Regions from separate parts of the Homo sapiens genome. Here regions 2, 3, 4, 5 and 6 are each linked to region 1. The links are contacts of gene promoters, found by promoter capture Hi-C in blood cells and fetal thymus (Javierre and others, 2016). All regions are on one chromosome and are shown on one strand. The core of a region is centred on a gene start or on the middle of the fragment in contact, and the rest is flanking DNA. Distances in the headings are between cores, read along the strand shown.

Region 1 (4,153 bases), core at 256-2,755:
GCATGATCTCGGCTCACGGCAACCTCTGCCTCCCAGGTTCAAGCGATTTTCCTGCCTCGGCCTCCTGAGTAGTTGGGAATACAGGCGCCTGCCATCACGCCCGGCTAATTTTTGTATATTTATTTATTTATTTATTTATTTATTTATTTATTTATTGAGACGGAGTCTGGCTCTGTCGCCCAGGCTGGAGTGCAGTGGCGCTATCTCGGCTCACTGCAAGCTCCGCCTCCTGGGTTGATGCCATTCTCCTGCCTCAGCCTCCCGAGTAGTTGGGACTACAGGAGCCCGCCACCACGCCCGGCTAATTTTTTATGTTTTTAGTAGAGATGGGTTTTCACCGTGTTAGCCAGGATGGTCTCGATCTCCTGACCTGGTGATCCACCCGCCTCGGCCTCCCAAAGTGCTGGGATTACAGGCGTGAGCCACCGCGCCCGGCCTAATTTTTGTATTTTTAGTAGAGACGGGGTTTCACCATGTTGGCCAGGCTGGTCTCGAACTCCTGACGTCAAGTGATCCCCCGACCCCCTACCCCCTTGCCTCAGCCCCGCAAAGTGCTGGGATTACAGGCCTGAGCCACTGCCCCGCCATCTTTTTTTTTTTTTTTTTTTTTTGAGCTGGAGGGTGTGGGCTTGTGCTGGGCTCTCATGAGTTGCCAGTGCCTTGAGGCTCAGTGGCCACAGTCCCCCCAGCCCCACTCCCTGCCTTACGCAGCTGAGTTTGAGAGCCATGAACTGAGCCCAATTAAACGGTGTAGAGCCCTTTGCCCTCTTTCTGTGCCCATCTCAAGGGCAGACGAAGGCCAAACTGACGTGGCCTGGGTGAGGGTCCCGAACACCCTGGACTCAGACCCTACCTCTCCGTGGCAGGGCGCCGCGGCAGCAGGTGCACAGGCCGTGGCTCTCACTCTCACCGTCTCACGCCAGAGCGACCCGGGCAAAGCCGCGCGCGGTGGCCGGCGTGGCTGGGAGCAGCCCCCGAGCCCCCGTCAGACCAACGCGGATCGCGGCACTGCTGCGACCCGAGCATCCCGCGTGCTCCCTCCGGGACCACTAGGCCCGGCCGCCGCGGGAACTCCGAGCCTCCCCACGGTCCCCAGGGGGCGCTGCGTGCTCGCGCCTCGGGGAGCAAAGCGAAAGTCGCTCGGGCACGCGGGGTGCAGTTGCGCGTGGGGCGCTGCCTGGGGGAGCCAGAGGCCCCGGGACCCCTTATGTAGCGCCCGGGCCCCAGCCGCAGCCCACCCAGCGAGAAGCGCCCCTGCCCACCGCCGCGCACGCTCGGAGCCGCGGGGCCAAGACTGCGGGAGGGGAGGGGTCCGCTCCGGGCCAGCGCCAGTCGGGGGTCTCCAGGCCCCAACGCACCAGGGCGGGCCGGAGGCGGGACGGGCCGCGCGGGACAGCGGAGGGGGTGCCTGGGCGCGCCGGGCCGTCGGGGAAGCGCGGAGGCGGGCACGCCGGGGAGGGCGGGAGGGGGCCGAGCTTATAAAGGCCCGCGGGCGGAGGAGGGCGGGAGCCGCCGTCCGGCCCAGCTCGGCCCCAGTGAGCCGAGCGCTGCGCTCCGCCGAGGGGCAGGGCGGTCGCCTGAGCGAGCGCGGGCCCGGGACGTCGGCACCGGCGGGGCGGCCGAAGGAGAAGGAGGAAGAGGAGAAGGCGGCGCGCGGGTCCCCGCGGGTCAGCCATGGCGCGCCGGCCCCGGGGCCCCCGCACCGCCCCATAGCGCCGCGGCGTCCGCTCGGTCTGGGCCGGGCCCTGGGCCCTCCAGCCATGGAGCCGCACGTGCTCGGCGCGGTCCTGTACTGGCTGCTGCTGCCCTGCGCGCTGCTGGCTGGTGAGTGGGGGGCGGGCGCCTGGGGGCGACGGGAGGGGGCTGCGTCTCGGCTCCCCACGGCCTGGACACCGGACGACGCCGGCCGGGGCGAGGGCTGCGGGCGAGCGGGCGCGGAAATTCCCAGGGACGCGCGACCCGGGCGCCCGCATTCCTGAAGCATGAGCGCGCCAGGCGGCGGCGGGGCTCCTGTCCCAGGGCCGGGCTGGAAGGGCGGCGGCGGCTGGGGGAGACGGCACCGCGTGCCCACGGGGGCGGTCGAGCGAGCGCCGGGCATAGCGCGGCTGGCGTCTCCGCCGGGGCGCTGCGGAGAGGAGGCCGCCGGGCGAGGCGGTGTTTGCCCCGGTGGGAAGGGCCGCGGCGGTGGTGGGGGGAGCACGAATCTCTTTTTCTCTTTCGGGTTTAAAAAAAAAAGCGCAAAGTTGCATCAGGACTTCCTGACAATCTGGGAGAAGGCGGGCTTCCTGCCTGGAGCTGTTTAATTTGGAGCTTCCCGAGCCCAACGAACGTCCGTGCCCAGGGCCCAGCCCCGCTCACCGCTGCACCCCCCTCTGCCGGACTGAGGCGGTCCCACACTTTGGAAAAAAATAGTGTGGGTTCCTCCCTGGTCCTCCCTTGCCCTACTGGGCTCAGTTTCGCAGGGGCGGGGGCCGGCCTCTGCCCTGGTCTGGGGGAGGGGACACCCCCGGAGGCTGTGGCCTGGTGTCAGGGCGGGGCAGGGGTCCCCAGTCCTGGCATCTGTGTTCCCTGCTTGCCGGGCAGTGGTGCCCCTTTCGCGAAGCACACCCGGGTGGCTTGGTGCTGCACGGCCTGGCACCCCTACCCTTCCCCGACCCTGGCCTAGCCGGGACCCAGGGTCCGCGCCCTCCGCCCGGGGGCTCCCCACGTGTGATTGATCTGGGAAGCAGTCGGATGGAATTAACCCACGGACAAGTGGGACGGTTTGCATTGGGAGTCCGCCATGGACACGGCAGGTGGGGCCTTTTGATTGTAAAAGCCCTTTCGGAGCCCTTGCCTCGCTCCAGGTGGGAGCTCGCCCAGCGCTAGCTTTGGGGATCTAGAGCCGCCTGCCTGAGGCTCCCAGACAGACTGCGTTTTGATCGGTCGCACAGAAAGGTGGTGAAACTTGGGGAAGATTTTCTAGACAGGAATCAATGAAAACCATTGAGGCTGGAGAGGAGAGGTTTTGAGCAACTCTCTTCAGTGCGGTCAGCCCTGTGTGGACTGGGCAGCCTGGGACCTGCTCCCAGTGCAGGGTCAGATGGGCCGTAAACAGGGCCCGGCTGTGTTCCTTCCTGTGCCTTGAAAACAAGCAGGACAGCCTGGCACAGAGGCAGAGTCTAGAGCTGACAGGCCTTAGAGAGGGAAACAGGAAAGCTTCTGAAACGTCCCGTTCACACTGATCGTTCCATTTCCTCTTGTGTCTGAGTGGGAGCGGGTGTCCTCCCTGCAGGGAATGCCCCCCCTCTCAGATGGCAGCTGCTCCTTGGGCAGAGTTGGCAATGTTTTTCTTTAAATGACCAGATGGTAAATATTTTCATGTCACAAAATCTTCTTCTTCTGGTATTTTTCCAGCCATTAAATGTAAAAGCCCTCCTGAGTTCATGGGCTGTACCTAAACAGGTGTTGAGCCCGATTCTGTGGCACATGTGGTTTGCTGCCCCCTGGGCATTGGTCAGGGGGCCTGGGTTCTGCCTTCTCGATTGCTATCCGCGTGGGGGATCTGGGGGAGGGATCACTGTTCTTCTTGCTTTTGGCCTCCTTGGGGAGGATGGGGAGGTAGCCCAGGGGTGCTCACCCAGGCCCCGTGTCAGTCTTCTATGAAACTTTTAAAGAATAGTGATGACTGACTGTCTGTCTGTATGGTACTTTCCTTAAACCTAAAACTGGTCCCAAATAAAGTCTCTTAATTTGAAAGATGCTGAAGCCCGGGCCATACCCCACACTGATTCTGTGTCTGGGGATGGGGCGTGGGGCCTGGGCCTCACTCAGTGTTTTCTCTCAGTCACCTGGGGGAGATGGAAGTGGAGCCGGCCAAGAACCCTGCCTGCCTGCCTGCTGGCCGGGACTCCTGAGTCAGGCTCTCTGGCCCTGGGGTGTGGGCAGCTCCAGATGGACCCGCGATGTGCAGGTTCAGCTGGCCTGGCCGGAGGTGGGACACTGGCTTTGCTGTCTTTGGAGTGCCCCCTCCCTCTCTGGCGAGCTTTGGCTGGAAGCAGTTCTACCGTGTTTTGGAAATGAATGAGGCCTTCAGAAGGCATTAGTCAGTGTGTGCCTGCGCTGGCTCAGACAGTGCCTGGTGAGGGTTTGAGTCATCCTGGGGTGCCCCTGG
Region 2 (4,153 bases), core at 427-2,926, 450 kb before region 1:
CATTTTGGGAGGCCGAGACGGACAGATCATGAGGTCAGGAGTTTGAGACCAGCCAGGCCAACATGGTGAAATCCCGTCTCTACTAAAAATACAAAAATTAGCCGGGCGTGGTGGCAGGTACCTGTAATACCAGCTACTTGGGAGGCTGAGGCAGGAGAATCACTTGAACCCAGGAGGTGGAGGTTGCAGTGAGCCGAGATCATGCCACTGCACTCCAGCCTGGATGACAGAGCGAGACTCTGTCTCAAACAAACAAACAAACAAAAAGTTTCCTCATTTAGGTTTTATACATTTCTTGATAAATTTATTTCTAAGCATTGTTTTATTGCTATTATAAATAAGTTTTCTCTACTATCATATCACCTCACTGGTTATTGGTTGTGTAGATGAAGACCATCTATGTTTTGACGGCAACTTCACCTCCTCTAACTTACTAAATGTTTTTACTGATTCTACAGGGCTTTCCATGTATATCATATAATGCACACAAGAGATAGTTCACTTTTTTGCAAATCTGTTTTGCCCAATTGCATTAGGTAACACTTCCAGTACACACACACACACATATAGCTACAGACACAGGCGTCCTAAGAAAGTATTCACCAATTCCTATTTTGAGTGCGTCTATCAATAGTAGGTACCACATTTTCCCAAAGGCTTCATCAACACCTATGGATACAATCACATGCCTTATCTTCTTAGATGGATTCATATGGTGTAGTATTTAATAGGCTTTCTAATTGAACCAGTTGCAGTCTTAAATTCCACTTGGTCATGGTTTATTATTTTCTCAATGTGGTTTTGTATTATTTGCTAATATTTAACATAACTAATTTGAATCAATATAATTAACACTGTAATTTTTCATTTTTGTGGTCTTTTATCACATTTTGCTTTTAACTTTTATTTATGAGATGGAGTTTTGCTCTTGTTGCCCAGGCTGGAGTGCAATGGCGCTATCTCGGCTCATTGCAACCTCCACCTCCCGGGTTCAAGAGATTCTCCTGCCTCAGCCTCCCAAGTAGCTGGGATCACAGGTGCCTGCCACCATGCCCGGCTAATTTTGTATTTTTAGTACAGACAGGGTTTCGCCATGTTGCCCAGGCTGGTCTTGAACTGCTGGCCTTAAGTGAGCCAGCCACCTCAGCCTCCCAAAGTGTTGGGATTACAGGCATCAGCCACTGCACTCAACACCCTGTGGTAATTTTCTTTGTGCTGAAGTCATTTTTTCTGATGTTAAATACAGCCTCTCCACTTTATTATGTTTACATGGTACTATTAACCTATTTACGTCATTGTATTTGAAGTGTCTTGTAGATGACATACTGATGCGTCACACTTTTTATCTGTCCTATCTTTAAATAGCATGTGTAGATCATATTTTTTTTTTGAGATGAAGTCTTGCTCTGTTGCCCAGTCTGGAGTGCAGTGGCACGATCTTGGCTCATTGCAACCTCCACCTCCTGGGTTCAAATGATTCTCCTGCCTCAGGTTCCTGAGTAGCTGCGACCACAGGCATGAGCCACCAAACCTGGCTAATTTTTGTATTTTTAGTAGAGACAAGGTTTTACCGTGTTGGCCAGGCTGGTCTGGAACTCCTGACCTCAAGTGATCCACCCGCCTCGGCCTCCCAAAGTGCTGGGATTACAGGCGTGAGTGCCCAGCTGATCATGTGCACTAATGTGTTTGATTATCTAGGATTCAGCTCTACCAGTTATTTTTTATTTTTTATTTTAGACAGAGTCTTGCTGTCACCCAGGCTGGAGTACAGTGGCGCGATCTCAGCTCACTGCCACCTCCACCTCCCCGGTTCAAGTGATTCTCCTACCTCAGCCTCCCACGTAGCTCGAATTATAGGCTCCCACCATCACCCCTGGCTAACTTTGTATTTTTAGTAGAGACGGGATTTCACTATGTTGGCCAGACTGGTCTGACTCCTGACCTCAAGTGATCCGCCCGCCTCGGTCTCCCACAGTGCTGGGATGACAGGCCTGAGCCACCGCACCTGGCCACCACTTCGTTACCTACTTGTTCTCTTTTGTTCCCAGTACTCAGTTTCCCCTTTATCACAATTCTTTCAGGCTATTTAACACTTTTTTTAGTAGTATGTTTTAATTAACATATTGGACCATTTTAGTATATCTCATTGTCCTTTTTTTTTTTAGACAGAGTCTTGCTCTGTCACCCAGGCTGGAGTGCCGTGGCACAATCTCGACTGACTGCAACCTCCACCTCCTGGGTTCAAGTGATTCTCCTGCCTCAGCCTCCTGAGAAGCTGAGATTACAGGTGCCCCCAACCACACACAGCTAATTTTTGTATTTCTTAGTAGAGATGGGGTTTCACCATGTTGGCCAAGCTGGTCTCAAACTCCTGACCTCAAGTGATCCACCCACCTCACTCTCCCAAAGTGGTGGGATTACAGGCGTGAGCCACCACACCCAGCTGTACACTTCTTTAGTAATTAAAATATACAGACTTAGCTTTTCCAGTCCTTCTGGAATGGTATTTTGCCACTGAAATGGAGCACGGAACCTCCACGCCGTCCAGCCACGTTGCCCCTCACCTTCATGTTGTAGTTGTCTTATGTATTAAATATACATCAGTTGAAACCCCATGTGATAATTTTTGCTTTTGACAATAATATATATTTTAAAGAACTCAAGAGTAGAATGATCTGATCTATTTACTCAGGTATTTACTCTTCTATTGCTTTTCCTTTGTTCCAGGTTTCCTTAAGAGTTTTCTGTAACCATTTATTTAAACCAGGTCTGCAGGCAATTCTTTGTATTGCCTCATCGTTACTTCTGTTTCATTCCTAAAGGATATTTTGTTGGATATAGCAATCTGGGTTGGCATTTCTTTTTATTTCAGAACTTGAAAAATGCTCCTACATTTCCTGTTGGCCTCTATGGCTTCCGACGAGAAACCCGGTCAATTGAATTGTTCTTCTGGAAGCACTGTGTCCACTTTCTCAGCCTCCTTCCAAGACTTTCACTCTGTAGCTTTCGGCAGCTTCGTGGTGGCAGGGGCTTGGTTTTCTTTTCTTTCTTCTTTTTTGAGACAGAGTCTCGCTCTGTTGCCCAGGCTGGAGTGCAGTGGTGCAATCTCAGCTCACTGCATGCTCTGCCTCCCGGGTTCACGCCATTCTCCTGCCTCAGCCTCCCCAGTAGCTGGGACTGCAGTCGCCCGCCACCACGCCCAACTAAATTTTTGTATTTTTCTTTTTTTTTTTTTTTTTTACTAGAGACGAGGTTTCACTGTGTTGGCCAGGATGGTCATGATCTCCTGACCTTGTGATCCGCCCACCTCGGCCTCCCAAAGTGCTGGGATTACAGGTGTGAGCCACCGCCCCCGGCCTGGGCTTGGTTTTCTTTAGGTTTATCCTGTCTGGGGCTCATGGAACCTCTTCAAACTTAAGTTTTTATCTTACACCAAATATGAGAAATGTTTCATCATTATTTTTTCAAGTGGTTTTACTACATCACACTTTCTCCTTTTCTTCCAGGATACTGAGGTCATGAATGTTAGCCATTTGGTATCATAACACTGCTCCCCAAGGCTGTTGCACATATGCTGAATAATTTAAGATTATAGTCTACACTTCTGAATTTTAGGTTATGACACTCTGGGTCTGTCAGTCCCACGGGTGATGGAGATACTGGTTCATCAGGCGAGTAACCTAGTCAGGTTCAGGAGGCAAGTTCTATTGAAACCATGTGGGTCGTGCTTTCCATGTTGATTCTGTCTTAAAGCCTACGCAGAACTGCTCATGTCTCTTCTCGGGCGAGGCTCGTCCACCTACAGAGTGGTCAACCTCACAGGCCAGCTCCTAAGGCTGATGATGTGTTTGCTGCTGCAGGACTGCCTGGAGGCCAGGGCAAGCGAATGGGAAAAACTAAACTTTCGGATTTTTTCTCTCACAGTGTTAGGACACCTGTTTCCCACTCGTTGTGTGAAAACGGAAGTCAGCATGAGGCCCCGATCTGGAGCCTAGTGGGTGCTGGTGCCAAGCTTCTGGGACCCTCCAGGCCTTCAGAATTGTGAACAAAATAAACCTCTTTTCTTCATTAAAAAAAAGAGGCCTTGCAAAAATTTTTATGTCCATAGTGGGAAAAATGACATTACACTCTACAGATACGGTCAACAAAAATC
Region 3 (4,153 bases), core at 606-3,105, 430 kb before region 1:
AGGCATGCGCCACCATGCAAGGCTAATTTTGTACTTTTAGTAGAGACGGGATTTCTCCATGTTAGTCAGGCTGGTCTTGAACTCCCGACCTCAGATGATCCACCCGCCTCGGCCTCCCAAAGTGCTAGGATTACAGGCGTGAGCCACTGTGCCCAGCGGACCTTATTATTTTTAATTATTATTATTATTTTTTGAGACGGAGTCTCGCTCTGTCGCCCAGGCTGGAGTGCAGTGGCGCCATCTCGGCTCACTGCAAGCTCCGCCTCCCGGGTTCACGCCATTCTCCTGCCTCAGCCTCCAGAGTAGCTGGGACTACAGGAGCCCGCCACCACGCCCGGCTAATTTTTTGTATTTTTAGTAGAGATGGGGTTTCACCGTGTTAGCCAGGATGGTGTCGGTCTCCTGACCTCGTGATCCACCCGCCTCGGCCTCCCAAAGTGCTGGGATTACAGGCGTGAGCCACCGCGCCCGGCCTAATTTTAATTTTCTTAGATGAAATACTAATATTGTGGTTTCAGTAGGATAATGTCCTTACCCTTAACAGACGCTTTACCAAGTATTTAAAGGTTAAGTATCATGTGTGCAGTTTAATTTCAACTTACTTACACTCAAATAATAATTCACCGTAAGGTTTATTTATTGGGGGAGAGAGAAAACATGGCCCAAAGCTAAAAAGGAGTAAAACGATTGCAGTGGATATTCCTTGTAGCAGATGTTCACATTTTTATTAGATTCAGATTTTCTAAAGCAAAACGTGAGAAAAAATACAGTTAGTCGAAACACACTGTTCACCGTGGATTCGATTACTCCAAGACCAGCGGGACAACGGCCGCATCCCTCCCGCCCCGAGGGCCGGGCCTGGAAGTCCCGGCGGCGAGGGACGCGCGCTCCCGCTGGCCCCCACGGGCTAACTTTCACAGGGAGCTGCACGCCCGGGGCGCTCAGGGGTCTACCTTACGCTTCGGTCCCAACACAATGTGCCAGAAACAAATAAAAAACGTCAAAGCCGAAGCCAGATTCTCACAGAAACACGCCCTGTTCAAAGTGAAGGAAGCAAAGGGCCCCTCTCTCACCAGCTCCGCGGAATGGAAGCGCTGCCCGGGTCTACCGCGAGCGGCGGCGACTTTCCCTTCTGGAAGCGGTGCCGGGGGCGCAAGGCGCGAGGCAGGCGGGCGGGCGCCCACTCCCGGACCAGCTTCCCCGCGGACAGCCCGAGGACACGCGCGGAACTCTCCGGCGCCAGCACGCACCGCCGCAAGAACCGGATCAGCTGTAAGACAGGCGGAGGCGGGGCCGGCGCCGGAAGAGGGGCCGGCGCGTCTTTGGCGTCACTTCCGCCTCCAGCCTCCGGGCCGAAGCTTTGGCCTATGGTGCGGGGAGGTAGTAGTTTCTTCCGCGAGGGTGCGGGAGGGCCCCGGGGCGCCCTTGGGAACCGGGCTGGAGGCAGAGACAGGCCCGGAGGACCAGGCGGACGTAAGGATCAGGCCTCTGGACGCAACTGCGGAGCCGGAACAGACCAGGAGGGCGCGGTTGGGCGGGTACAGCCAGGAAGTGCTCGTCGCGAGCGCGGCCCGCGGTTCGGTCACAGCGAGAAGCCCGCGGGTGCTGGGAGTGCTCGGTCTTCTCTCGATCTCTGCAGGGAGTCACTGGCCCCGTTCCTTTTTATCTGTCTGAACATCACGCCGAACTTTTAACAGTTGATTCCACTGCATTTTCAATGTGGTATTTTTTTTTTCTGTAAATGTTCATCTATTTTTCGCTTCAAATATGCGTTTCTGTTACTTTTCTAATGTACCGTAGGAGCCAAGACCACCTATACTACGTTGCAAAATAGCACTGATACCAGGGGTTCTCCCAAGGTTCATTCAGAAATGTCACATGATTCCAGTAACAATACGAAAAGGTTTTTTTTTTGGAACCAGGCATATTGATCCTGGAGTTCACATGGAGGAACAAATGTCTCATAACGCAGACGACGCGGACAAACAAAAGCGCAATGCCCGACAGATGCGAAAACAGCCTCTGTCATTAAAACTGTGTGCTAGTGACACATGAACAGGAAACAAATGGAATATCCAGACATCAACCCAGTAACATGGAAATTTGGTTCATAAACATAATTTCAGAGCGGTGGAACAAACATGCAGTTTATAATGAAAGGTGCTAAGACAAATGGTTAGCCGTCTGAGAAATGATGAAATTAATTCTGGATCTCACAGGGATAAACTCCAAACGGATCAGGAGTCTAAATGTGAAAAACAAAACAAAACCACATGTGAAGTGTTCACGTGATTTCGTGGCTGATTAAGAAACAAGATGTGCCCAGGAGGTGGCGGTGGCGCACAAGCTTTGACAGGTTGGAGGGTGAGGGAGTCTCACGCACCATGAGATTACCCACAGGCTTCGAATTGGGGGTCACTACTCAGAAAAGAGAAAAAAATGAGCGTGGGCGGGGGGCGCGCAGAGAACTCCCAGAGAAGAAGGAGATCAGACAGGGGGAGGGCTGACGTGACTAGATCACGTTTCTCAGCAGCCTGACAGGTGTCTGAGTCACAAAGCTCTGAAGGGCAGCAACGGCTTGCAGTCTTTAGAGCCCCAGGATTTATCTTATCTATGGCTAGCAGAGATTGGACACAATTTCACGAAGTATACAAAGCAACCACATGCTAAATGGTTCAACACTATGAGTGTTTGGGATGTGTTTTATTTATTATTTATTAATTTTGATACGGAGTCTCCCTCTGTCGTCCAGGCTGGAGTGCAGTGGCACGATCTTGGCTCACTGCAACCTCCGCCTCCCAGGTTCCAGCTATTCTCCTGCCTCAGCCTCCCAAGTAGCTGGGATTACAGGTGCCCACCTTGTAATTTTTAGTAGAGACGGAGTTTCACCATGTTGGCCAGGCTGGTCTCAAACTTCTCACTTCAGGTGATCCACCCGCCTCGGCCTCCCAAAGTGGTGGGATTACAGACGTGAGCCACTGCAGCCACCGTGCCTGCCCTTGGGATATGTTTTTTTTTCTTTTAATTTTGTTTTGTTTTGTTTTTTTGAGACGAAGTCTTGCTCTGTCGACCAGGCTGGAGTGCAGGGGCACAATCTTGGCTCACCGCAACCTCCGCCTCCCAGGTTCAAGCGATTCTCCTGCCTCAGCCTCCAGAGTAGCTGGGATTACAGGCACGTGCCACCAAGCCCAGCTAATTTTTGTATTTTTAGTAGAGATGGGGTTTCACCATGTTAGCCAGGATGGTATCTATCTCTTGACCTCGTGATCCTCCTGCCTCAGCCTCCCAGACTGCTGAGATTACAGGCGTGAGCCACCGCACGGATATGTTTTAAGTAACTGAATGTATTAAAATTTGACTTTGGCACCAGCAGGCTATTGTGAATAATGTTGCTTTGAGCATCGTGTGCAAAAATATCCTGGACCCTTGTTCTCAGCACTTTTGGATATATATGCAAAAGTGGAATGGCTGGGTCACATGATAATTCTGTCTGATGTTTTGAGAAACCACTGTCCTGTTTTCCAGAGCTGCTGCACCATTTTGTATTCCCATGAGCAGGTGCACAAGGTTCCAACTTTACCACATCCAGCCAACAGTTACCTCCTATTTAATGGCTAAGAGCCATCACCACCGGGGTAATGTGATCTCACTGTGGCTTTTGTTTTCATTTCCCTAATGTTTAGTTATGTTGATCATCTTTTCATGTTCTTATTGGCCATCTGTTATCTTCTTTATTATAAGTCCTTTTCTGAATTAAATTGGTTTTGTTGTTATTCTTGAGTTATAGGAGTTCTTAATAAACTGAATATTAATCCTTAAGCAAACACAAGATTTGCAAATATTTCCTCCCATTCTGTGGGTTTCCTTTTCACTCTCATGATTGTCCTTGGATGCACAAAATTTGTAATATTGATGTAGTCCAATTCATCTAGTTTTCTTCAGTTGCCTGTGTGGGTGATTTCATAACCAAGAAATCATTTCCAATTCCAGTGCCATGAAGTTTTTTCTCTATGTTTTCTTCTAAGAGTTTTATACATTAGCGCTTACATTTAGGTTTTTGATTCATTTTGAATTAATTTTTATATGTGGTATAAAGTAAGGGTCCAGCTCCACTGTTCTGCATGTAGATATCCAGTTTTCTCCAGCACCATTT
Region 4 (2,500 bases), core at 1-2,500, 370 kb before region 1:
CCTGTCTAGGCCTCAGTGGACCGGCCAGCCTAATGCCTGGGCTGCTGGCCTGGGCCCTATCTGTTAAACGAATGGAGGAGGCAGGAGCTGGGTCCATGGTCTCCCTGCCAGGGAAGCCGCAGGTGGAGGGAAGGCAGAGGGCGGCAGGGGCTTCACCCTGGCCCCTGATGAGGGAGGGGCAGAAAGAATGGGGCGGCACCTGCCACAGGCTGTGTGTGGGACTTTGCTGGCAGCAGCAGGCGCGGTGCCACGGCTTTGGGGACCAGCTGGTCACCAGGAGTCCTGCCATCCCCTGGTGCCTGAGAGAAGCTGGGCCACCCGCCTGGGAGCAGCTCCTGGCAGCACCCCTGTGTCTGGCTGGGGTCAGAACTGGTGACTTTCCAGATTCAAGCCAGCCTCCCTAGGAGGTCAAAAGCACCAGGCATGTAGAGGGGCTTCTGACCCAGCTGGTGGCAGCCTGCTCCCAGGGCACCTGCTCCTGGGTCTAACTTTTGTGGCATGGGGCCGCCCAGCAAGGGGCAGGGTGTGTGGGGTGGGCGCTGCCAGCCACGTGGGACTGTGGTATCCTCATGGAGCTCAGTCACGGTGAGTTCGCAAACAGCACCCCCCGGCCTGTGTCTCCAGAGGCCAGGTCAGCACCAGAGGCCAAGATGGGGAATAAACTGGGCTTTAATGGGGAGGGAGGAGAGGATGAGTTCCCTCCAGGACGGGCTTGTTCTCGGCTGGTGGAGCAGAGGGGAACCAGGGGCCTGGCTGGGCACTGGCGGACTGTGTGCACGAAGGCCGACCAGCCTGGCACAGGGACCAGCTGGAGAGTCACTCGTGACTTTAGAACACGGCATTCAACCGCATGTCCTTGGAGCACCGTATTCTGGTCAACCGGCTGGTCAACGAGCTCCAGGCTTTCTGTAGTTTGTGGTCAACGAGCTCCAGGCTCTCTGCAGTTTCTGGTCAATGAGCTCCAGGCTTTCTGTAGTTTGTAGTATTGTCAGCAGAAAGTTACACTCATTATTTCGAAAGCATGATATACTGATGTATACTATCGGATAAAGCAAATGATTATGTAAGCTTTTTAGGAATCAAAAGTTTCAGGATTAAAGGAGAGAGATGCAAATGTAAAATTAGTGGAATTAAGTAAAAATTTTGCTATGTTAAATTTGACCTTTTCCCAACAGAAGGCATTTCCTTAGCTACCAGCAAGGCCTAGACACAAACGTCTGGACTGTAGTCTCTGACTGCCGTTCCCTTGGGTCCAGGCCTCTGGCGGGAGGGCGGGACCCCTTCCTCTGACTGTTCCCGGGGTCAGGCCATGGGGATGCACAAGGCCACACCGTGAGGCAGGAGTTCGGGTGGGGCAGGGCCGTGGACTGGGGCACCCACCAGTCCTGGAAAACAGGGCTGGGACGCTGCTCTGTGGCCTCAGACAAGCTTGGTGGGCGACATGCTCAAGTGAGCAGGGGCCCCAGGCCACGTCCAACTGTCCGCGAGGCATGTGAGCCTGAGATGGGGCTGGTCTCCTGTCAGAGGCACGTGAGCCTGAGATGGGGCTGGCCTCCTGCCCGGCACACTCGTTTCTGGCCACTCTTTCAGACGTGCATTCCGGGGGCAGAATGTTCTGGGTAAGTTCAGGCCAGACACTGCTGGGCGATGACTGTTACTTCCCCCAGGCTGTGGGGAGGAGGCAGCCTATTCTTCTGAAAATTGTCCAGAAACTTCTGGATTCTGCATGTGGCCCCTGTGCATCTGAATTGGCCCCGCTAAGTAAATGCAACGTGGGTGCACCCAACATTCACAACACACCTTCCTGAGGTTTCTGCATCGGCCACGCCTGTGGGCTCCGGAGCTGGGTCTGGGGAAAAGCTGGTGAGCCACAGACATGAAATGGGGGCCATGGGGCAGGTGGGGGTCTGGGTGGAGACGGTGATGGGAGAGAGGGTTCACCGGCTGAGGGGCTGGTGTGGAGATGACCTGGAAAGTCCCTGCGCTGGGGGGTGAGGCAGGGTCACGGCAGAGCAGCTCCGGGGCCATCCGTCCACGCACTTTCTGTGACACATGCTGATGGACACACAGTAGTGTGCAGGGTGGCAGGTGTCCCCACAGTGGGAGCTGCTCTCCTCCAAGAGCAGCACCAGGAAATGCACGGAACCCATGGGACAGGGCTGGTTCTGGGAGGCTTGTGAACCCTCAGCTCCTCCCAGGAGGGCCCCCTGGGTGGCTGCCCAGACCTCCTATGTGGGCCGGGAGACACTGGCTCTGGGTGAGGCACAGGCACGTGCAGACGGCGTGGGACAGGGGCTTGTTTCCTCCAGTGGAGTCTTTGTTTTTTGTGGGAAACCTCTGGGACCTGCCCTGGAGAGCCTGGCAACTGCAGGGCACTGTGGGGCGGGAGGTGCCTCAGCACGTGGGGCCAGGGGCTGGCTGCACCGCGCTGCACAGATGAGGTCGGCGGTGACCAGGCAGAGGTGACACCAGGGACGGTCTCCTTGAGCTGCAACAACTG
Region 5 (4,153 bases), core at 1-2,500, 340 kb before region 1:
ACTCTTTTCAAGTACACCAGAACATTCCTGAAAAGAAACCACATTCTGGGCCACAAAACACAACTTAACAAATTTAAAAGAATTGAAATATACCAAGTGCGTCTTTTGACTGTAATGGACTTAAACTAGAAATCAGTAACAGAAAGATAATGGAAAAATATCCAACTATTTGGAAAATATGTGCTATACTTCTAAATAATCCACAAGTCAAAGAGGAAGTCTTAAGGAACATTAAAAATATTTTGAACTAAATGAAAATAAAAATATATCAAAATTTAGGTCAGGCGTGGTGGCTCATGCCTGTAATCTCAGCACTTTGGGAAGCCGAGGTGGGTGGATCACTTGAGGTCAGGAGTTCGAAACCAGCCTGACCAACATGGTGAAACCCCATCTGTACTAAATACAAAAAATTAGCTGGGCGTGGTGGCGCATGCCTATACTCCCAGCTACTCAGGAGGCTGAGGCAGGAGAATTGCTTGAACCTGGGAGGCTGAGGTTGCAGTGAGCCAAGATCATGCCATTGCACTCCAGCCTGGGCAACGAGAGCGAAACTCCGTCTCAAAAAAAAAAAAAGAAAAAAGAAAAAAATATATATATATTATATATAAATTTGGGGATGCAGCTAAAGCAATGCTTAAGGGCAACGTACGTCATTAAATGTACACATTATAAAGAGGAAAGGTCTCAAATCAATAATCTAAAGCTTCACCTTAAGCAACTAGAAAAAGAGAAAAGCCAGAAGCAAGTAGAAGAAACCAAGAACTAGTGAAACTGAAAACAGAAAAACAGTAAAGAAAAATCAATGTATCCAAAAGTGACTTCTTTGAAAAAAGAGCCATAAAACAGATAAACTTCTAGCAAGGATAACAAAGAAAAAAGAAACAGAAGACACAAATTACCAACATGAGGAATGGGAGCCACATAACTTCAGGCCCTGAAACCATTAAAAGGTTAAGATGGGAATTCCCTTATTAACCTTTTAATCAACCTTTTAATGGTTTCGTGGCCTGAAGGGAAACTCTACATAAAGAAACTTAACAGATTAAATGAACCAATTCCTCAAAAATGATATGTACCAAAAATCACCCAAGATGCAACAGATGACCTGAACAGTCCTATAAGCACTAAAGAAATTGAATTCATAGTTCTTTTTCTTTCAAAAAAGAAACGTTGGTAGGGCACAGTGGCTCACACCTGTAACCCTAGCACTTTGGGAGGCGAGGAGGGAGAATCACTTGAGGCCAGGAGTTCAAGATCAGCCTGGGCAATATAGTGAGACCCCCAACTCTACAAAAATAAAAATAAAAAATTAGCTGGGCATGTTGGCACATGCCTGTGGTCCCAGCTACTTGGGAGGCTGACGCAGGATCACTTGAGCCCAGGAGTTCAAGGCTCCAGTGAGCTATGATTGCACCACTGCACTCCAGCCTGCGTGACAGAACGAGACCTTATCCCCCACACACAAAATAATAATAATAGAAAAGAAAACCTCTAGGCCCAGATGATTTCATTGGTGAATTCCACCAATCATTGAAAGAAGAAATAATACCAATTCTACACAATCTCTTCCAGAAAAAAAAAGAGGAGAGAACACTTCCCAACTCATTTAATGAGGCCAGCATCACCCTCAAACACAACCCAAAGAAAGTACAAAAATGGGAAACTACAGACCAAAATTTCTTATGAATACAGATGCAAAAATACTCAGCAATATGCTAGCAAATCAAATCCAGTACTATATATAAAAAAATGACCCACCAGGACCAAGTGGGGTTTGTCCTGGGAATGAAAGCTTGGTTCAATGTAATCTACCATATTAACAGCCTAATAAAGAAAAGTCCATCAATACCGAAAAGCTTTTTGAAAATATTCAACATACATTTAGTGATAAAAAGTCTAAGCACATTATAGATAGAATGGAATCTGCAAAAAGCCAGTAACTAACACACTTGCTGAAAGACTGAATCCTTTCCCTAAGATCAGAAATAAGAAGGTCCACTCGGACTGCTTCTGTTCAGTATCGTATTGGAAGTCCTAGTCAGGGCTTTGGTCATACAGGTTGGAAAGGAAGAAATAAAACTGTTTGTATTTGCAGAAAACATGATTGTATTTGTAGAAATTCCCAAGAAGTCTATTAAAATCTCCTAAAACTAGTAAGTTAATTTAGCAAGGTAACAACTAAAGTATTTGAGGCCAACACACAAAAATCAATTCTATTTCTACCTACTAGCAATGAACAGTTGAAAACTAACAACAGCAACAAAAACGTGACTGTGTGCAGAGGCTCATGCCTGTAATCTCAGCATCTTGGGAGGCCGAGGCGGGCAGATCACTTGAGGTCAGGAGTTTGAGACCAGCCTGGCCAACATGGTGAAACCCTGCCTCTATTAAAAATACAACAATCAGCCAGGTGTGGTGGCACACATCTGTAATCCCAGCTACTGGGGAGGCTGAGGCATGAGAATCACTTAGACCCAGGAAGTAGAGGTTGCAGTGAGCTGAGATCGTACCACTACACTCCAGCCTGGGCGAAAGGACAAGATTCTGTCTCAAAAAAACAAACAACTCTCCCCCCATACCCACCTGCCATACTTACAATAGTTTAAAAAGGAGAGGAAAAGGAGGAGAAGAAATAGGAGGAATAAAGAAAAGAAGAAACATTTACTTATAAATTTAACACAAGTACAGCATCTATATGCTGAATACAACACAGAAGAAACCAAAGTATATCTAAATGGAGAGACACACCATGTTCACTGATCTAAGTAAATGGAGAGACAGACCGTGTTCACAGATCTATGTAAATGGAGAAACATACCGTGTTCACGGATCTAAGTAAATGGAGAGATATACCGTGTTTGCGGATCTAAGTAAATGGAGAGACATACCGTGTTCACGGATCTACGTAAATGGAGAGACACACCAGGTTCACGGATCTAAGTAAACGGAGAGACACACTGTGTTCACGGATCTAAGTAAACGGAGAGACACACCGTGTTCACGGATCTAAGTAAATGGAGAGACATACCATGTTCATGGATTGGAAGACTCAGCATAGTAATTGTTAATTCTCCCCCAAGTGATCTCCCCGATCAGAATGGCTAAATTCCAATCAACATCTCTCTCTCTCTCTCTCTCTTTTTTTTTTTGAGGCAGTCTCACTCTGTTGCCCAGGCTGGAGTGCAGTGGTGCAGTCTTGGCTCACTTCAACCTCCACCTCCCAGGCTCAAACAATTCTTGTGACTCAGCCTCCCGAGTAGCTGGGATTACAGGCGTGTGCCACCACACCTGGCTAACTGTATTTTCAGTAGAGACAGGGTTTTACCATGTTGGCCAGGCTGGTCTTGAGCTCCTGGTCTCAAGTTGATTAGCCTGCCTTGGCCTCCCAAAATGCTGGGAATACAGGCATGAGCCACTACACCTGGCTTTCCATTCAAGACCTCAAAAGAACTTTTTGTAGATATAGACAAGCTAATTCTTTTTTTTTTTTTTTTGAGACAGAGTTTTGCTCTTGTTGCCCAGGCTGGAGTGCAGTGGCGTGATCTCGGCTCAGTGCAAACTCCGCCTTCTGGTTTCAAGTGATTCTCTTGCCTCAGCCTCCCAAGTAGCTGGGATTACAGGCACCCACTACCATGCCTGGCTAATTTTTGTATTTTTAGTAGAGACGGGTTTCATCATCTTGGTCAGGCTGGTCTTGAACTCCTGACCTCAGGTGATCTGCCCACCTTGGCCTCCCAAAGTGTTGGGATTACAGGTGTGAGCCACCAGGCCCGGCTAGACAAGCTAATTCTAAAATTAATATGTGCACCAAAACAACTCTGAGAAAGAATAAAGCTGGTGAAATCACACTACAATTGTTAAGACCTACTATAAAACCACAACAGTCAAGATAATGTGGTGTCGGTAGAGGAATGGAAACATAGATCAAGGGAACAGAACAGATAACCTGTATGTAGACCCTCTCAAATATGTCCAATTAATCTTTGGCAAAGTGGCAATGGCAATGCAATGCAGAAAGGGTAGTCTTTTCAACAAATATCACACACACATGCAGTGTGCGCACAGGTGTCACATACACATGCAGTGTTGCACACAGGTAACACACACGTATATGCAGTGCGCACATGGGTATCACACACACATGCAGTGTGTG
Region 6 (4,153 bases), core at 1,078-3,577, 320 kb before region 1:
ACTGGTTTGAGGTAATGGCTACTTAATTCAAAATTTACAATAATGAATTTTGCGGTGTGTGAACTGTATCTCGATAGAGCTGTTTTTGAAAAGGGAAGGTGCAATAAAAACATTTTCAGTGAAACAAAATTGAGGGATTTGTTGTCAGCAAAGCTGCACTACAAGAACTATTGAAAAGAAGTTCTCCAGGCTGAAGGGAAACAAGTTGGGGGAAGCACAGTGCTTCGCGGAGAACCTCTGTAGGGACAAATGAAGGCACCAGAAGAGGAGACATGTGGGGAATTTAACAAATTTAAGGACTCCTGATATGGTTTGATGGCATCCCCACCCAAATCTCAACTTGAACTGTATCTCCCAGAATTCCCACGTGTTGTGGGAGGTGCCCAGGGGGAGGTAATTGAATTATGGGGGCCGGTCTTTCCTGTGCTATTCTCATGATAGTGAATAAGTCTCATGAGATCTGATGGGTTTATCAAGGGTTTCCGCTTTTGCTTCTTCCTCATTTTCTCTTGCCACCGCCATGTAAGAAGTGCCTTTTGCCTCCCACCATGATTCTGAGGCCTCCCCAGCCATGTGGAACTGCGAGTCCAATTAAACCTCTTTTTCTTCCCTGTCTTGGGTATGTCTTTATCAGTAGTGTGCACACGGACTAATACAGTAAATTGGTACCAGCAGAATGGGGCTGGGGGCGTATGAAACATGCAGCCACATTTGGGGCTGGGGTGTGTGAAACATGCAGCCACGTTTGAGAACTCTTCCGCAGTTTCCACTGAAATGAAACATACATCTAGCCTGTGAGCCGGCACTGGGAGTTGCGGATCCAAGGGAACTGTCCACAGGGACATCTGTGTGAGAATGTTCATAGCAACCGTGACTTCTAATAGCCACAAACTGAAAACAATCTCAAGTCCTTCAAGAGCAGAATGGATAAGCGCACTGTGGCTTCTGCACACCAGGAAATACAACACAGCAACGTAAAAAGAACAAACTGCATTTGATGTAACACACAGATCAACAGCACAGTGAACCAGAAACACAAACGTGACACTGAGGCACGGAAAACGGAGCACGCGTGTAGCAGGATGGTGCCGAGGCGGGGAGAGCACGCGTGTAGCAGGATGGTGCCGAGGTGGGGAGAGCATGCGTGTAGCAGGATGGTGCTGAGGCGGGGACAGCATGCACGCAACGGGACAAGGCTGAGGGGCAGGGAGCAGGCGCGGAGGTGAAAGACACGAAGGACGGTCTTTCTTGGAATTCATCCAAATCTTCAGAGGGCAGCTGCTGCCCTAAAGAAGGGCACTGAGAGCCGAGGGTGACCTTCTTCCTCCAGCACATCCCAATGTGTTGCCACACTTCCAAGACGTGAAAGACCTGGAGGCCCCCTGAAGGGCGCCATAACATTTGACTAACTAGCAAGTGCTTCTGAGGTGGCAGGAGCAGGCCTGTTGCTCTAACCTGAGCTGCCACAGCACAGACCCTGCCAGATGGCAGCCCTCCTGAGTCCATGCTGCGATCCTGAGGAAGTCGGCCAGGGCAGTGCTGTTGGAGACGAGTGACTGATCTGAGCCTCTGGCTGTCTCGTCAGTGGTGACTTTGATCTCCAGAGGCTGTGGCTGCACATCCATCTTCCGGCATCCTCCTCCTCTCCCCCAACCCCATCCGTCACCTGCAGGCACTGACACCCACGGCCCTCTGTGCAGGATGACTTGAAGACACCGCGTCTGAGATCGTTCAGCACCACCGCAGGTGTCTGGTCACCCCACACTTGTATCCTACACATTCTTCCACACAATCTTAGACAAAATCCCAAAGTTCAATAACGCTGACAGCTGGATTTTACACATAGAAATTCCTAAAGTTGGAAAACCCTGAAACTTGGAGTTTATGGAAAAGAGTTGCAATCCTTTGTAGCCACAGCATCAAATTTGTTTAAATATTAAGTTTTCAGCTGGGCATAGTGGCTTACGTCTGTAATCCCAGCACTTTGGGAGGCTGAGGCAGGTGGATCATGAGGTCCGGAGTTCTAGACCAGCCTGGCCAACATAGTGAAACCCCGTCTCTACTAAAAATACAAAAAATTAGCTGGCTGTGGTGGCAGGTGCCTGTAATCCCAGCTACTCAGGAGGCTGAGGCAGGAGAATCGCTTGAACCCAGGAGGCGGAGGTTGCAGTGAGCCGAGATCGTGCCACTGCACTCCAGCCCGGCTAACAGTGCGAGACTCCATCTCAAAAAAAAAAAAAATTAAGTTTTCACAGCATAGTTTAAAGAAAAATCCCAAGTAAGTGTCAAAAACGGTGAAGGTCTGAGGCTTTCCCGTGTCCGTTGAAGGTCTGAGGCTTTCCCGTGTCCATTAATGAGCCAGTCTGCAGTGTCTGGAAGATGACAGCAGATCCCCAGGCAGAGACCCCAGGGTAGACACTCTCGGAGCAGAAATCCCTGGGCAGACGCCCTTGGGACACAGACCCCAAGGCAGGGACCCCCTGGCAGATGCCCCTGGGCAGAGACGCCGCAGCAGCAGCTCCCAAGCCGTGTGCCTGTGGGCACTGGAAAGGGCCAGGTGGTGTCATTCATGCAGTGCTGGAGAAGCAGCAAGACCAGAAAGCCCAGATCCTTGACAGCTGGCCTGCGCCAGCACCCACACCCACCTGCCTCTCGCCCTGAGGGTAACACACTCTTTACTTGGGAGGATGGAACCAACCTGCCCTCCGGGACGATGGAACCAACCTGCCCTCAGCTCCCTGGGAGATGTTCTGCCTCTGCCCCTGCCAGCTGCATCTCGCCCTGGCACGGTCCACGACAATGGCCGTTGCTGCCTCTGCCCAAGTGACCATGGTAGACCAGCCACCGTCAGCGCCCGGGCAGCCCCCAACAGAGGTTCAGGGCCAGGCTGCCAAGGAGCAGAGGCCAAGGTGGGGCAGGTTGAGGGGGCCCAGTCACAGGCACAGAAACTGACACCCTGGACAGAGCTGACCGCCAAAGGAAAGGAGGAGCTTAAGGCGGAGAGGAGGGAGCTGCCCCGTCAGAGGAGCCCCCAGAGACACAGCAAAGGCATGGAAGTTCCCTACACACCAGGCGCTGCACCACCCACACAGTGCACTCACGGGGAACTCACTGCAGCAAAACCACTTTGACTCAGCAGACGTTCACCAAGGACAGCTGTGTCCATGCAGGGCGCACCCCAGAGAGAGCCGCAAGGAGGGTCGGGTCACTGAGCCAGATCCCTACCAGGGGAGCCAGGAAGGCCTGGAGCAGAGCGCCAGGCAGATGTCTCCGGGATGGACCACGCAGATGAGGCAGCCGCAGTGTCTGCCATCTTAACAGACTGCTGTGTCGCAGCTGGGGTCAGGGCTGAGATGTCTGTGAAAAATAAGGACTGAAGCCAACAAGAATGTGGAATGTGTTAGGGAGACGGGGCCCTCAGGGAGGCTCTTCAGGGGGTGACCCTGGCGACGGGGCCCTCAGGGAGGCTCTTCAGGAGGTGACCCTGGCGACGGGGCCCTCAGGGAGGCTCTGTGGCTACAGGCGTCCTGAAGAGCAGTGGAGGGAGCTGACGGCTAATCACGCAAGTGTGCTGGCAGCCACCTCTCTTTGGCACGGTAGTAACTGCTAGATTTTAAAGAGGTCTTTCTCTAAAGCCCAATGTTATCATCTGTGAAGAAACAGGCTCACTTGCTCGTACAAAGCTGTTCTACATACTGGCTTCTCTTGTGAGACCTTGCCTCCAGTGGAGGCTAGAGAAGAGCCCCTTCTCTTTTCCAAGTTTGTGCCCACTGTGAGCCGGCCTCCAACCTTATTTTCCGGGGATGAGACTGAAGGTCAGAGAGGTGGAGGGCCAGAAAAGCTGCCTTCTCTCCACCTCCAGCCACCGTGTGGGGCTGGATGCCCTGCAGAGAAGAGGATGGGCCTCTCAGCGGCAGGAGAAGCAGAGGGAAGGTGGGCAGGGCTGACTGCTTGCAGGGACCCCTTCCTGGCGAAATTCACACCTGACTAGGGTTTGGGTCCTGAGCTCCCGGTCAGAGGCCTCAGAGCTCCACACAGCCTTCGATGGGGCCAGAAAGACTTCAGACAGGAAGAGTCCTGGCAAGAGCGGTGAGTGTGGGGCCGGCCACTGGTGGCTGCTGTGCTCTGGGCTTTAGGGCTGTGCCTCTGCTGG

What was found. Contacts are between HindIII fragments. The CHiCAGO score rates a contact against its expected background, and 5 or more counts as called.
Region 2: a fragment that was not itself captured here is called in contact with the fragment with the promoter of PIEZO1 in region 1 in 1 of 17 cell types (total CD8 T cells); the score reaches 5.2 in total CD8 T cells.
Region 3: a contact is called between a fragment that was not itself captured here and the fragment with the promoter of PIEZO1 in region 1, in 16 of 17 cell types (erythroblasts, naive CD4 T cells, naive B cells and 13 more). The highest score is 34.2, in erythroblasts.
Region 4: a fragment that was not itself captured here is called in contact with the fragment with the promoter of PIEZO1 in region 1 in 5 of 17 cell types (endothelial precursors, total CD8 T cells, M0 macrophages and 2 more); the score reaches 8.2 in endothelial precursors.
Region 5: a contact is called between a fragment that was not itself captured here and the fragment with the promoter of PIEZO1 in region 1, in 11 of 17 cell types (monocytes, fetal thymus, naive CD4 T cells and 8 more). The highest score is 8.4, in monocytes.
Region 6: a contact is called between a fragment that was not itself captured here and the fragment with the promoter of PIEZO1 in region 1, in 1 of 17 cell types (neutrophils). The highest score is 5.1, in neutrophils.

Annotation. Positions count from the first base shown.
Region 1 is chr16:88,782,572-88,786,724 of GRCh38, reverse strand. PIEZO1 (piezo type mechanosensitive ion channel component 1 (Er blood group)) reads left to right here and starts at 1,505. Exons shown (of 51, transcript NM_001142864.4): 1 at 1,505-1,824. The coding sequence starts at 1,761. RefSeq lists silencers at 1,007-1,336, 1,377-1,856, 2,357-2,676 and an enhancer at 1,361-2,274. The HindIII fragment of the contact is 3,775 bases long and covers 1-3,200 here.
Region 2 is chr16:89,235,082-89,239,234 of GRCh38, reverse strand. ZNF778 (zinc finger protein 778) reads right to left here. Exons shown (of 7, transcript NM_001201407.2): 7 at 2,094-4,153. Among named protein-coding and RNA genes, the nearest start is that of ZNF778, 19 kb to the right of the region's middle. The HindIII fragment of the contact is 4,676 bases long and covers 1-4,014 here.
Region 3 is chr16:89,214,831-89,218,983 of GRCh38, reverse strand. It overlaps ZNF778 (zinc finger protein 778), which reads right to left and starts at 1,281. Exons shown (of 7, transcript NM_001201407.2): 1 at 1,074-1,281. It overlaps ZNF778-DT (ZNF778 divergent transcript), which reads left to right and starts at 1,331. Exons shown (of 1, transcript NR_186410.1): 1 at 1,331-3,824. RefSeq lists enhancers at 1-394, 395-925, 1,450-1,499, 2,449-2,743. The HindIII fragment of the contact is 989 bases long and covers 1,361-2,349 here.
Region 4 is chr16:89,154,385-89,156,884 of GRCh38, reverse strand. It overlaps ACSF3 (acyl-CoA synthetase family member 3), which reads right to left. Exons shown (of 11, transcript NM_001243279.3): 11 at 652-2,500. Among named protein-coding and RNA genes, the nearest start is that of LINC00304, 3.6 kb to the left of the region's middle. The HindIII fragment of the contact is 360 bases long and covers 1,071-1,430 here.
Region 5 is chr16:89,124,685-89,128,837 of GRCh38, reverse strand. The region is part of intron 7 of ACSF3 (acyl-CoA synthetase family member 3); the gene reads right to left. Among named protein-coding and RNA genes, the nearest start is that of LINC00304, 32 kb to the left of the region's middle. The HindIII fragment of the contact is 1,089 bases long and covers 706-1,794 here.
Region 6 is chr16:89,104,385-89,108,537 of GRCh38, reverse strand. All of the region lies in intron 4 of ACSF3 (acyl-CoA synthetase family member 3), which reads right to left. Among named protein-coding and RNA genes, the nearest start is that of ACSF3, 13 kb to the right of the region's middle. RefSeq lists an enhancer at 3,212-3,261. The HindIII fragment of the contact is 6,380 bases long and covers 1-4,153 here.